Linked DNA regions of Homo sapiens: region 2 is linked to region 1. The links are contacts of gene promoters, found by promoter capture Hi-C in human tissues and cell types (Jung and others, 2019). All regions are on one chromosome and are shown on one strand. Each heading gives the region's core, a stretch centred on a gene start or on the middle of the fragment in contact. The rest is flanking DNA. Distances are from core to core; before and after follow the strand shown.

Region 1 (6,183 bases), core at 2,488-4,987:
GGCTGGAGCGCAGTGGCGCGATCTCGACTCACTGCAAGCTCCGCCTCCCGGGTTCAAGCCATTCTTCTGCCTCAGCCTCCCGAGTAGCTGGGACTACAGGTGCCCGCCACAAGTCCAGCTAATTTTTTGTATTTTTAGTAGAAACGGGGTTTCACCTTGTTAGCCAGGATGGTCTCCATCTCTTGACCTCGTGATCTGCCCACCTCAGCCCCCCAAAGTGCTGGGATTACAGGCGTGAGCCACCGCGCCCGGCCTCTCCATTACTTTTAATGCCAACACCGCAATTATTTTTGCACCAACCTAATAAATCTATATTTCACGTTTTAAGGAACTGCCACACTGTTTTCCACAGTGACTATACCATTTTATATTCCAACCAGCAATGTGTGAAGGTTCTTGTTTCTCCACATCCTTCCAAAATTTGTTAATTTACTGTTTTTTTTTTTTTTTTTTTTGTTGTTGTTGTTGTTTTGTTTGGTTTCTTTTTGAGACAGAGTCTTGTTCTGTTGCCCAGGCTGGAGTGCAGTGGTGCGATCTCGGCTCACTGTAACCTCTGCCTCCGGGGTTCAAGCGATTCTCCTGCCTCAGCCTCCTGAGTAGCTGGGACTACAGATGTGAGCCACTATACCCAGCTAATTTTTGTATTTTTAGTAGAGACAGGGTTTCACCATGTTGGTTGGCCAGGATGGTCTGGATCTCTTGACCTCGTGATCCACCTGCCTCAGCCTCCCAAAGTGCTGGGATTACAGGTGTGAGCCACTGCGCCCGGCCGATAATTTCCTGTTTTTTGATTATAACCATCCTAGTGGGTGTGATGTGATAACTCATTGTGCTTTTTGCTTTTATTTCCCTAATGACCAATGATGTTGAATATCTTTCATGTGCTTGGTCATTTGTTCATCTTCTTTGGGAAAATTTCTATCCAATTTCTTTGCCCATTTTTAAATTGGGTTGTCATTTTGTTGATGAGTTGTAAGGTTCTTTGTATACTCTGAATACTGAATTCTCATCAGATATATGAGTCACAAAAATTTTCTCTCATTCTGTGGGTTGTCGTTTCAGTTTCTTGAAGATATCCTCCAAAACAGAAGAGTTTTTAGTTTTGATATCCAGTTTGGTTTTTCCTTTTTTGCTTGTGCTTTTGGTGGCATATCTAGGAAATCACTGCTTAATCCAAAGTTAGGAAGATTTATGCCTATGTTTTCTTCTAAGAGTTTTAAATCTTTAGCTATATGTGTAGGTCTCTGATCCATTTTGAATTAATTTGTGTATATGAGGTATGAGGTGGGGGTACAAATTCATTCTTATGAATTTTTATTTATTTTTGGTTTAATTTTAAAGAGATGAGGTAGGTTCTCGCTATGTTGACCAGGCTGGTCTTAAAGTCCTGGCCTTAAGTGATCCTTCTGCCTAGGCCTCCCAAAGCGCTGGGATTACAGATACGAACCATTGTGCCTAGCCTTTAAAAACTGTTTTATTTATTTTTTTCAAATTCATTTTTTTCATGTGGTTATCCAGTTGTCCCAGCACCATTTGTTGGAGAGATTATCTCCTCCTGCACCTCCCACACTGAGTTTTCATGGCATCTTTGCCAAAAATCAGTTGATGATAAGTGTGATAGTTTACTTGTAAAACTCTCAATTCCATTCCAGTAACCTATATGTCTATCTTCACATCAGGACCATACTGTCTTGATTACTGTAGCTTTGTAGTAAGTTTTGAAATTGGGAAGTGTGAGTCCTCCAACTCCATTCTTCTTTTTCAGGAACATTTTTTTCCATATGAATTTTAAGACCAGTTTGCCAATTTTTGAAAAGAAGTCAGCTGGGATTTTGATAAAGATTGTGTTGAAGCCCAGATGCGGTGTGATTCATTCCTGTAATCCCAGCACTTTGGCAGGCTTAGGCGGGTGAATCACCTGAGGTCAGGAGTTAAAGACCAGCCTGGCCAACATGATAAAACCCCGTCTCTACTAAAAATACAAAAAATTAGCCAGGCGTGGTGGCAGACGACTGTAATTCAGTTACTTGGGAGGCTGAGGCAGGAGAACGGCTTGAACCCAGGCAGCGGAGGTTGCAGTGAGCCGAGATCACGTCATTGCACTCCAGCCTGGGCAACAAGAGCGAAACTCCATCTCAAAATAAATAAATAAACAAATAAATAAAGATTGTGTTGAATATGTAGATCAATTTGGAGAGTATTGCCATCTTACCAATATTAAGTTCTCCAATTCATGAACATGGGAAGTCTTTTCATGTAGTGAAGTCTTCTTTAACTTCTTTAAACAATTTTTGTGGTCATCAGAATATGAGTTTCACACTTTTTTTGTAAAATTTATTCTTAAGTAGTTCATTTTTGATACTATTATAAAGTTTCTTTCATAATTTCATTTTTGGTTTGCTCACTGCTACTGTATAGAAATAGAACTTTTTTTTTGTATTTATCCTGCATTTGTTATGGAGCTCATTTATTAGTTCTAATAGTTTCGTAGTTGATTCCATACGATTTTCTGTATACAAGATCATGTCTTCTGTGAATACAGATCATTTTACTTCTTTCTTTCCAAGCTTGATATCTTCTACTTTTGTTTCTTGTGTAATTGCCATAGCTAGAACTTCCAGTACAATGTTGAACAGAAATGGCAAAAGTGGACATCCTTGTCTTATTCCTGATGTTAGGGATGAAGCAGTCAGTCTTTCACCATTAAATATAGTAGCTTTGGGTTTTCAATATCTTCTATCAGGTTGATAAAGTTTCCTTCCATTCTTAGTTTGTCACACATTTTTATCACAAAGCCTGTTGAATTTTGTCAAATGCTTTTACTAGATTAGAATGATCATGTGATCTTTGTCTTTTATTCTGTTGATGTGATTGTTACATTGATTTATGGGTGGTAAACCAATCTTACATTTCTGGGTAAAATCCAAATATTTCTTTTTTTTTCCTTTTCTCTGACAGGGAATTGAACCTGGGCTGTGGCAGTGAGAGTGCTGAATTCTAACCACTAGACAAGCAGGGACCAAATACATATTTCTTAAATTGAATTTATCATGAGCACATTATATGAGGATTGGGTAAAAAGTAACTAAAAAAATGGCCAAAGAAACAAGATGGAAAATAACTTCCATTTTCAGATAGTAACTATTTAGGAAACATTGAAACTTTGGAAGTGAAATTGTTATTGTGTAAATATTTTAAAAAAGCATGTTTATACATCTTTCACACTCTTTGAGTCTTATATTTTTCCTTTAAAGTCTTGGAACTAGACCTTTATGATATTCTAAATTTAATAACACTTAACAACTTGCCCTAAATATCCCTACTTTATAACAATTACTGTAGTGGTTTCCTCATAGATTTGTTTTTTCCCCATCCCCCACACCCTTCCCAAGTACACACCCTTCCCAAGTATTATCCCAAGTGAGACTATCATTATCATCTATTATTCTTATTGGACATTTTAAAGTACCTGTACAAAAATGGCATTAGTTAGGGATATAGTAAAGTTACTTCTAGTCTTTTAATTGGCTTCTGCCCTTGGCGCTGTTTGAGCAAAGAGAAGAGACCCTCATAGAGAACTCTAAGGACAAAAAAACTTACTTTTAATTGTGACCCCAAGAATTATCAATATCTCTATTAACAGAGACAAGGGCTTCATCTTCTCTTAAGCAGCTTCTCTTCACTGTAACACAGGCAGAAACTAGGTGATTGGCCCAAGAGCTCCTCTTCTCAGGGACTGTGGTGGGGGCAGGAGTCAGTTGCTAAGCAACCATTTCCTTACTCTTGGGCCAATGGGCTGCCAGAGTGTTCCTTTCAAGCCGGAATGAAGGCAGCTGCTGGAGAATGTAGGCTGTGGAAAGGATCCACTGCTATTCCTCTGGCTGAAGATAAGGGGTAGGCTAGAAATTAGGGGTGGCTCTCTAACATGAAAGGAAGGGACCAGAAGTCCGACTCGTACGTGTCCACACGTTCAACTGTGTTCAGGGGTGCTGGAAGTTCTTATTTTTATGTTGCCTCTAGAGGTACAAACTACACTTATGTAAAAACACAATTAAGGTACATGAACTGATCTGACATCATCCTGTAAGCTGGTATCTCTAGGCTATGGCGGAAAAGAAACAATGGGCCAAGTCTGCTTTGTTCCCAATCTGGATGAAAATCTTTATCCTCTTTTCCAGTTAGAAACTGCTGAGGATTTACTGGAACAAAGGCAAACAAAGACTGTTTAACAATGTCTTTACATACCTCAGATAATACAGACATCTCACAAGTGGTACCTTCAAAGCTACGAGAAATCAAAATGAATATTTAGGGAAAACATATAAATATTAAAAATATCCAAGGCACAGAGCTAGTTGAGAAATTATGCCTACAAAAAATATCCAACTTTTACAGTCTGTCCAGGTCATTACTTTAGAAATAGACATTTTATTGTTTTGAATTTACAGTTTTATTCCTTTTATTAGTTTCCCATTGCTGTGATAACAAATTACCACAAACGTAATGGGTTAAAACAACAGGAATTTATTCTCTCATAGTTCTAGAGACCAGAATTCCAAAACCATTCTTACAGGGCTAAAATCAAAGACAAGGCTAGCTCCTCCTGGAGGCTCCAGGGAAGAATCCATTCTTGGCCTGGAATTTTTCAGCTTCTAAGTGGCTGCCAGCATTCCTTGATTTGTGACCACATCATTTCAGTCTCTGCTCAGTCATCACTTGCCTTCTGTAGTTTAATCTCCCTTTGTGCCCCTCTTATAAAGATACTTGTGATTACATTTAGGGCCCACCAACATGATCCAGAACAATCTCTCTCTCTCTCAAGATCCTTAATGTTGGCTGGGCGTGGCAGCTCACACTTGTAATCCCAGCACTTTGGGAGCCTAAGGCAGTTGGATTACTTGAGGCCAGGAGTTCGAGACCAGGCTGACCACCATGGCGAAACCCCGTGTCTACTAAAAATACAAAAATTAGCTGGACGTGGTGGTATGCGCCTGTAGTTTCAGGTACTCAGGAGGCTGAGGCATGAGAAGTGCTTGAATCCTGGGGCCAGGGGCCTGAGGGGTGGAGGTTGCAGTGAGCAGAGATTGTGCCACTGCAATGCAGCCTGAGCGACAGAGTGAGACTCCATCTCAAAACAACAACAACAAACCCAAACTTCTTTATAGGAAAATCAATGAGCAATGAAGGCATATAAGGGGAAGCGGCAAACAAAGGTCAGGTAGGGTCAGAGTCAGGGAAGGCTTTGCTAGGGAGTGATGTTCAAGCTGAAATATGAAGAACGAGAGTGAGTCAGCTAAACAAATCATGTCCCAGGTGTTGCAATGAACATGTTAAGAGGCTATGTGGGCTGGGTGCCGTGGTTCATGCCTGTAATCCCAGTACTTTGGGAGGCTGAGGCAGGTGGGTCATCTGAGGTCAGGAGTTCAAGACCAGCCTGGCCAACATGGTGAAATCCCGTCTCTACTAAAAATACAAAAATTAGCCGGGCATGGTGGTAGATGCCTGTCATCTCAGCTACTCGGGAGGCTGAGGCAGGAGAATTGCTTGAACCTGGGAGGCAGAGGTTGCAGTGAGCCAAGATCGCGCCATTGCATTCCAGCCTGGGCAACAAGGGTGAAACTCCGTCTCAAAAAAGAAAAAGGCTATATGGTGTTCCAGAACATGAAATGATGCTCTGTGGGCTGGAATCAGAGACTGGGGAATGGGGGTGGTATGGAGCATAGTATAAAATAAGGCTGGGTTAGTAGGTGATAGTCACTCCATTCTTAATAATTTAATTGTTATAAAAAGACTGTATTAGCCTGTATGCAACAAAATAATATAGACTGGGTGACTTTACACAGCAGAAATTAATTTTCTCAGTTCTGATGGCTAGAAATCTGAGACCAGGTTCTGGTGAGGGTCTTCTTCCTGCTTGCAAGATGGCTACCTTCTTGCTGTGTCCTCATATAGCAGGGAAAGGGGGTGGGAGGAGAGGATGAAAGAGATCTCCCTCTTCTTATAAGGCCTCAGTCCTATTAACCTCACTCACCCTTATGACCTCATTTAAACTTAATTACTTCGTAAAGACCTAATCTCCACATTTAGTCACATTGGAGATTAGGGCTTCAACATATGAATTTTGGGTGCACGTAAGTCAGTCCATAGTAAAGACCACCAGAAAGTCATTGAATGACTTACAGA
Region 2 (6,183 bases), core at 1,473-3,972, 46 kb after region 1:
AGGATGGCTACGATCTCCTGACCTTGTGATCCGCCCGCCTCAGCCTCCCAAAGTGCTGGGATTACAGGCGTGAGCCACCGCGTCCAGCCCCTACTTCACCTATTTTTAAAGGCTTCATTGTCTGTCATTGTATGGAAGTACTGTGGTTTTATTTAATCACCCCCTATTCATAAGCATTTTGATTATAATAATTTTCATTTTGCTAGTGTAACTAATACAGTATGTTCTTAGAGATTTATTTTTGTATTCTTGTGTTTATGTCTGTAAGAATAATTTCCAGCCATGGAATTGCTAGGGTATGCAATTTCAAATTGACAGACGTTTTTAGTTTCCACTTTAAAAATGTTGAACCAACGTTATATTCCCACTTTTAGTGTATGCAAATGCATATTTCTCAGCACCAACACTGGATTATATCAACTGCATTATTTTTGCCAGTATGAATGTTTTGCTATTTTTAAAATCATGAGTGAGATTAAACCTGTTTTAACATTCGTCAGCCGTTTATTATAACAAATAACATTTATTGAGCACTTACATGGGCTAGGCACTGTTCTAAGTGGGTTGCATATTCATTTAATGAATTGTTTCCTCACATCATTTGCTCATTTAAAAAAATGTTTTTTCTTAGTGAACTAAGAGTTCATTGTACATTAAGAAAATTACCTTTAATCATATGTATTGCAGATTTTTTCCATTTTACTTATTGTCTTGATGTGTATGTATACATTTTATACACAGTTTTACATTTTTATGTGCTTAGATTATGTTTTATGATTTTTTTCTTCTTGGTCTTAATCGGTTTTGGTTAAGCTTATTGCTTAACCATGAATATGATCATTTTTACCATATAATTTCCTAATTGGTTATTGCTCAGTTATAGGTAAGTGTTGATTTTCAAATACTGGTGTTGAACTCTGTTATTCATCAGTCTTTTAAGGCATACTCTTGGACTTTATAGGTAGATGATAAAAGCTTCTGCAAGTATTTTTATAGCTTTGTACTTGCTATTTCTCTTTCTTTTCCTTTGCATTAGCTAAGGTCACCAGTACAGTGTTAAACAATAGTGCTCATAGCAGGCATTCTTGCCTTGACTTTAATGCATTTTGTTATTCAGTGAGATTTATTCATGTATTAATTAATATGATAGTAATTTTACTGTTTAGGAGCACTTATTTTCAGGGAAAGTAGCCTACTAATTAGACATTAACAAGAAGGTAAAGATACCTAACTTTTATATCAGTATGTGGTCTTGTGCAAACAGTGTATTCTCAACTCTCCCATTTATATAGTGAGGATAATTATTAATCTGTAATGTAAAATTCCTGTAAATGACTAAGCAATATGTAAAATATCAGAGCCCACATATTAAAGTATCATCATATGACAGGTTGCCATTTGTTGAGTTATTTTCAAGTGCTTACGGATATTTTACACTGGGGCATGACTTCTGAGTTCGTGGAAAATTTTTTGTTCTGAATTTTTCAGAATGGCTGATCTGAATAATAACGTATATGGTTCATCAGCATAATATGAGTAAAGCCTATTCAAACCTTTACATTTCTTTCCTGTCGGTTCCCAAAATTATTCAGAGAAATGGAGGGGTAAAGTAGTATAGATAAACAAAATTGTTCATCACCAGCCCATGTTTGAAATATACCATTAAGATAGACAGCGGCTGGGCGCGGTGGCTGACGCCTGTAATCCCAACACTTTGGGAGGCCAAGGCGGGCGGATCACGAGGTCAGGAGATTGAGACCATCCTGGCTAACATGGTGAAACCCCGTCTCTACTAAAAATACAAAAAATTAGCCAGGCGTGGTGGCGGGTGCCTGTAGTCCCAGCTAGTCTGGAGGCTGAGGCAGGAGAATGGCGTGAATCCAGGAGGTGGAGCTTGCAGTGAGCCTAGATGGCGCCACTGCACTCCAGCCTGGGTGACAGAGCGAGACTCCGTCTCAAAAAAAAAAAAAAGCTAGCAGACAGCAGTTATTCAATAATGAATAAGACACGATTTCTGCCTTTTTGAATTGTATATGAGGTTAAGTAGCCTTTACTTGTCTTCCCAAGTGAGATTTACTGAAACTAACATTTTAGTAGTCTCCCATTCCTAGCACAATGCCTGGAATCTGTTGGGTTCTCAGTACATTTTTGCTTAGTGTACTTGAACTTCAGTGTTTATGAAACATAGATTCCTGCATATTCTGGTTCAGTAGGTATTAATTAGGACCCAGGAGTCTGCACTGTTAACAAGCACCTCAGGGTGTTTTCCGGTGGTTTCTCTTAATAAATACAAAGAAAATTTTCTGAAGAGAGATGTTATATTCATCTCATAGAAAATCAATTTTGGGTGGGAGGAAGTTTCACTGTAATCTTCATGCCTTATACAAAGGTAACTTTGCCTTTTACTTCAGACTTCAGCTTTTCATTTAAGAGGAATCTGTATATTTAGCACAGTCGTGGGTTGTTGGTATCCACTTAGTAAATATCTATTGATTACCTTATTTTTCCCTGCTCTGTCATCCAGGCTAGAGTGCCCTGCCGCAATCTTGGCTCACTGCCACCTCTGCCTCCCAGGCTCAAGCGATTCTCCCACCTCAGCCTCCCGAGTAGCTGGGACCACTGGTGTGCACCACCACGCCTAGCCACTTTTGTGTTTTTTGTAGAGACGGGGTTTTGCCATGTTTCCCAGACCATGTTGATTATTCAGCATTGATTACTTGCAGTAATTATGGAATTAGTTTTTAATTTACTAATCCAGCGTTTTGTGGTAAAGTTACAATTTTAAATGTAGTTTAAAAATAAAACGTTTTTAAACTGGTCTCTGTTTTTCCTCCTTGGGACCTTGTCATAGCTTAGGTGGAGCTTGAAATAATGAAGCGTGTCAGATGTGGCATAACATGGTTTTTTAATGACCAAAATGTAACTTTTATTTTAAAGGGTATTATATACCTGGTTATATTGAAAGGTAGCCTTGAGATGTATAAGAGCCTTCTTTGTATTGTTACACACTCTTCCAAAATATGGACAAATCATAAATGATGAAAACATGATTGCAATTTTGTAGAATTTACTAGTTTTGGCATCATTAATTTGGCCAAAATACATGTAATAATGGGAATTTAATGCATTATAGGTTTCTATAAAAATTCTACAATTATAGAAATATTTTTACAGTGTCCTATTCAGTAATTAATAAAGCCTTCTTTCATGCAATTATAAATGAATACCAATGTCCTATTCAGTAATTAGTAAAGGCTTCTTTCATGCAGTTATAAACAGATACCAATATTTTGTATTGGTGGACGTGAAAATATTTATTTGGTAATCTTAGTAAGGGATGCATATTTTTTGATTGAAGACTATGCATTTACCCAGCTCAAAGGAATGGATATTTTATTTTTGAATTTAACTCAGTGATGTCGCTAATCTATGTGAACACGCCAACTGTGTGTGTGTTGGTGGGGGGGGTAGTTAGTAACCATGGAGCTAAGGATTGATGAAGGTTGGTGATAAAGGGAAACATTCCCTTGGAATTAAGACATTGTTCCTTGCTGGGTGCAGTGGCTCATGCCTGTTACTCCAGCACCTTGGGAGGAGGCTGAGGCGGGTGGATGGTTTGAGCCCAGAATTTCCACACCAGCCTGTGCAATGTGGTCTCTACAAAAAAAAACCCCAAGAAAATTAGCCCAGCATGGTGGTGCGAGCCTGTAGCCTCGGCTACTCAGGAGGTTGAGGTGGGCGGATTGAGGCCAGAAGCGGGAGGCAGCAGTGAGCTTGTGAGGGTACGGGGGCGAGATAACTGTCTCAATTAAAAAACAAACAAACAAAAACCAGGCGCAGTGGCTCACGCCTATTATCCCAGCACTTTGGGAGGCCGAGGCAGTGGATCACTTCACGTCAGGAGTTTGAGACCAGCCTGGCCAATATGGTGAAACCCCGTCTCTACTAAAAATACAAAAATTATCTGGGTGTGGTGGTGGGTGCTAGTAGTCCCAGCTACTCAGGAGGCTGAGGCAGGAGAATTGCTTGAACCCAGGAGGCAGAGGTTGCAGTGAGCCGAGATCGTGCCACTGCACTCCAGCCTGGGCCACAGAGTGAGAGACTCCGTCTCAAAAAAAAAAAAAGATTCTGTGTATTAGACACATAAAGCACTTGTGTGCCAGGTATAGTTGTGTTTTACAAATATTGACTTATTTAATGACTACAATAACTCCATGAAGTAAGTACAATTATTATTTCTTTTTACAAATCAGGAAACTGAGGCACAGAGAAGTTAGAGAACTTGCCCAACGTCATACTGCTGTTGAGTGGCAAAGTTGGGATTTGAACCCAGACCTTCTATCCTCTTCACCTTTGTTAATGCTGCCTTTTGTTTCCTGAAAGCATTGCTGGTGTGTTTATGCGTTATGTCTTTACTACTAATTATATTTGATTTTTGGAAAGATGTGGTATTTTATGCTGTGCATTATGTCGTTTTTGTGGTTTATAATTCATAATGCCATGATGTTTTTAATTTAACAAACAAGTATTAGAAAAGGTAAAGTTGTTGTATATAATAACTTTGCTAATAATCACTGAACGTTGTCTCAGCAAGTATATGTGTAATGAATATAAATTTATACCATTAAAAAAAAGTAGCCATTCATTCATTCACATTTTCTTGTAATTCTGCTTGTTTCCATATTTGCACTTAAGATCTGTTGAACGTTAAAACAAATTTGCTTCCTTAGATTTTTTAACCAGTCACCATTTTTTTAAGTTGGTAGGATGGGCCATATTGAAGATAAACTATATTTTACAAATTTTATCAGCATGCTCTATGAACTTGCTTCTCAAACTGGAGTATTAACATATGTATGTGTTTTTACCAGGGTGTTTGTGAAGCTACACATAAAAGTATTACTCTTTTAAAGTACCATTTCTAGTTCTAAAGATTGGTGAGGGTGGAAATATTAAGTACTTTAAATTTTCAGCTTTTAAAAATTTTTTATGTTGAAACTAAATGATTTTTAAGAAGCAAAGAATTTCACATAAATTATGGTTGACCATCCTAGAGACCATGAAGGTTGTATTAATTCATTCCATGGAAAACTTTTAGGAGTACTTGATTATATTTGAAGTAAATTGGTATCTTGGAAAGTTGTGAAATTGGTGAACCTGCCATACCAAAATGGTAAACAAAAACAAAACTTTCCTGGGGTACTGAAAAGAATGATGTTACCAAAGGCACGTCTTGTTTTAAATCTTATGTTTTATTTTTTTCTTTAATCTTAACAAACCCCACTTTTAAATAAATCCTTAGTAAAATTAGGATTTATTTGGGGCTGTTAATTTACAAAAGGATTGATTGTGATATTCCTTTAAATAGCTTGCTTCTTCAGTTTACAAATGTTCATTATATTCATAATGTTCAGGCCTGCATATAAATAAAGCAGGGAAAACCGGTGATAGATACTTAGTTTTTTAACTATAAAACATCCTGGTAAAAACATTAAAAGGTTGTAAATTGGGGAACCTGTATAGCCAGTGTGTTTTTTAGGTTGGCATATATAAGTGATATTGATATAATTGTCTTTTGTTTCATTCTAAATACTGAGCTTAGGGCTTGAATTTGCCATCTGTTTTTTTTTTTTTATTAAGTATGACCATTAAAACAGGAATAATTTGATTGAAGACTACGCATTTACCCAGCTCAAAGAAATGGATATTTTATTTTTGAATTTAACTCAGTGATGTCGCTAATCTATGTGAACATTGTAGAGTGACATAAATGTCTTCTTTAGAGTATCCAGATGGAAATTGTGGCACAATGCTTTTGTATTTCAGTGACTTCAGAAAGAAGGTAGGCCTTTAGGAGAGTATCTGGGGAACCTTTCAATAGGGTAATTGTGGGGATAGCAAATTAAGTACAGTCGTGTGTTGCCAACAACAGGGATATATTCTGAGAAATGTGTAGTTAGGTGATTTAGTCATTGTGTGAACATGATAGTGTGTATTTACCACAAACTGAGATGGTATAGCTACCTATCACACACCTAGGCTATATGGTTATATATAGCATAGCCTATTAGTCCCAGGCTACGAAAGTATACAGCATGTTACTGTACTGAATACTGTAAGCAGTTGTAACACAATAGTATTTGTGTATCTAAACATAGAAAAAGTACAGTAAAAATAGAGTGT

Evidence for each region. The method cuts DNA at HindIII sites, captures the fragments that hold promoters and counts their contacts. A contact is called where the count stands out against the background at its distance.
Region 2: a fragment that was not itself captured here is called in contact with the fragment with the promoter of SEL1L2 in region 1 in 1 of the 25 tissues and cell types used here (mesendoderm cells).

Annotation. Positions count from the first base shown.
Region 1 is chr20:13,986,877-13,993,059 of GRCh38, forward strand. SEL1L2 (SEL1L2 adaptor subunit of SYVN1 ubiquitin ligase) reads right to left here and starts at 3,738. Exons shown (of 20, transcript NM_025229.2): 1 at 3,601-3,738. The coding sequence starts at 3,658. It also overlaps the pseudogene TRE-CTC10-1. The HindIII fragment of the contact is 28,140 bases long and covers 1-6,183 here.
Region 2 is chr20:14,034,185-14,040,367 of GRCh38, forward strand. All of the region lies in intron 2 of MACROD2 (mono-ADP ribosylhydrolase 2), which reads left to right. Among named protein-coding and RNA genes, the nearest start is that of MACROD2, 42 kb to the left of the region's middle. The HindIII fragment of the contact is 5,742 bases long and covers 1-5,593 here.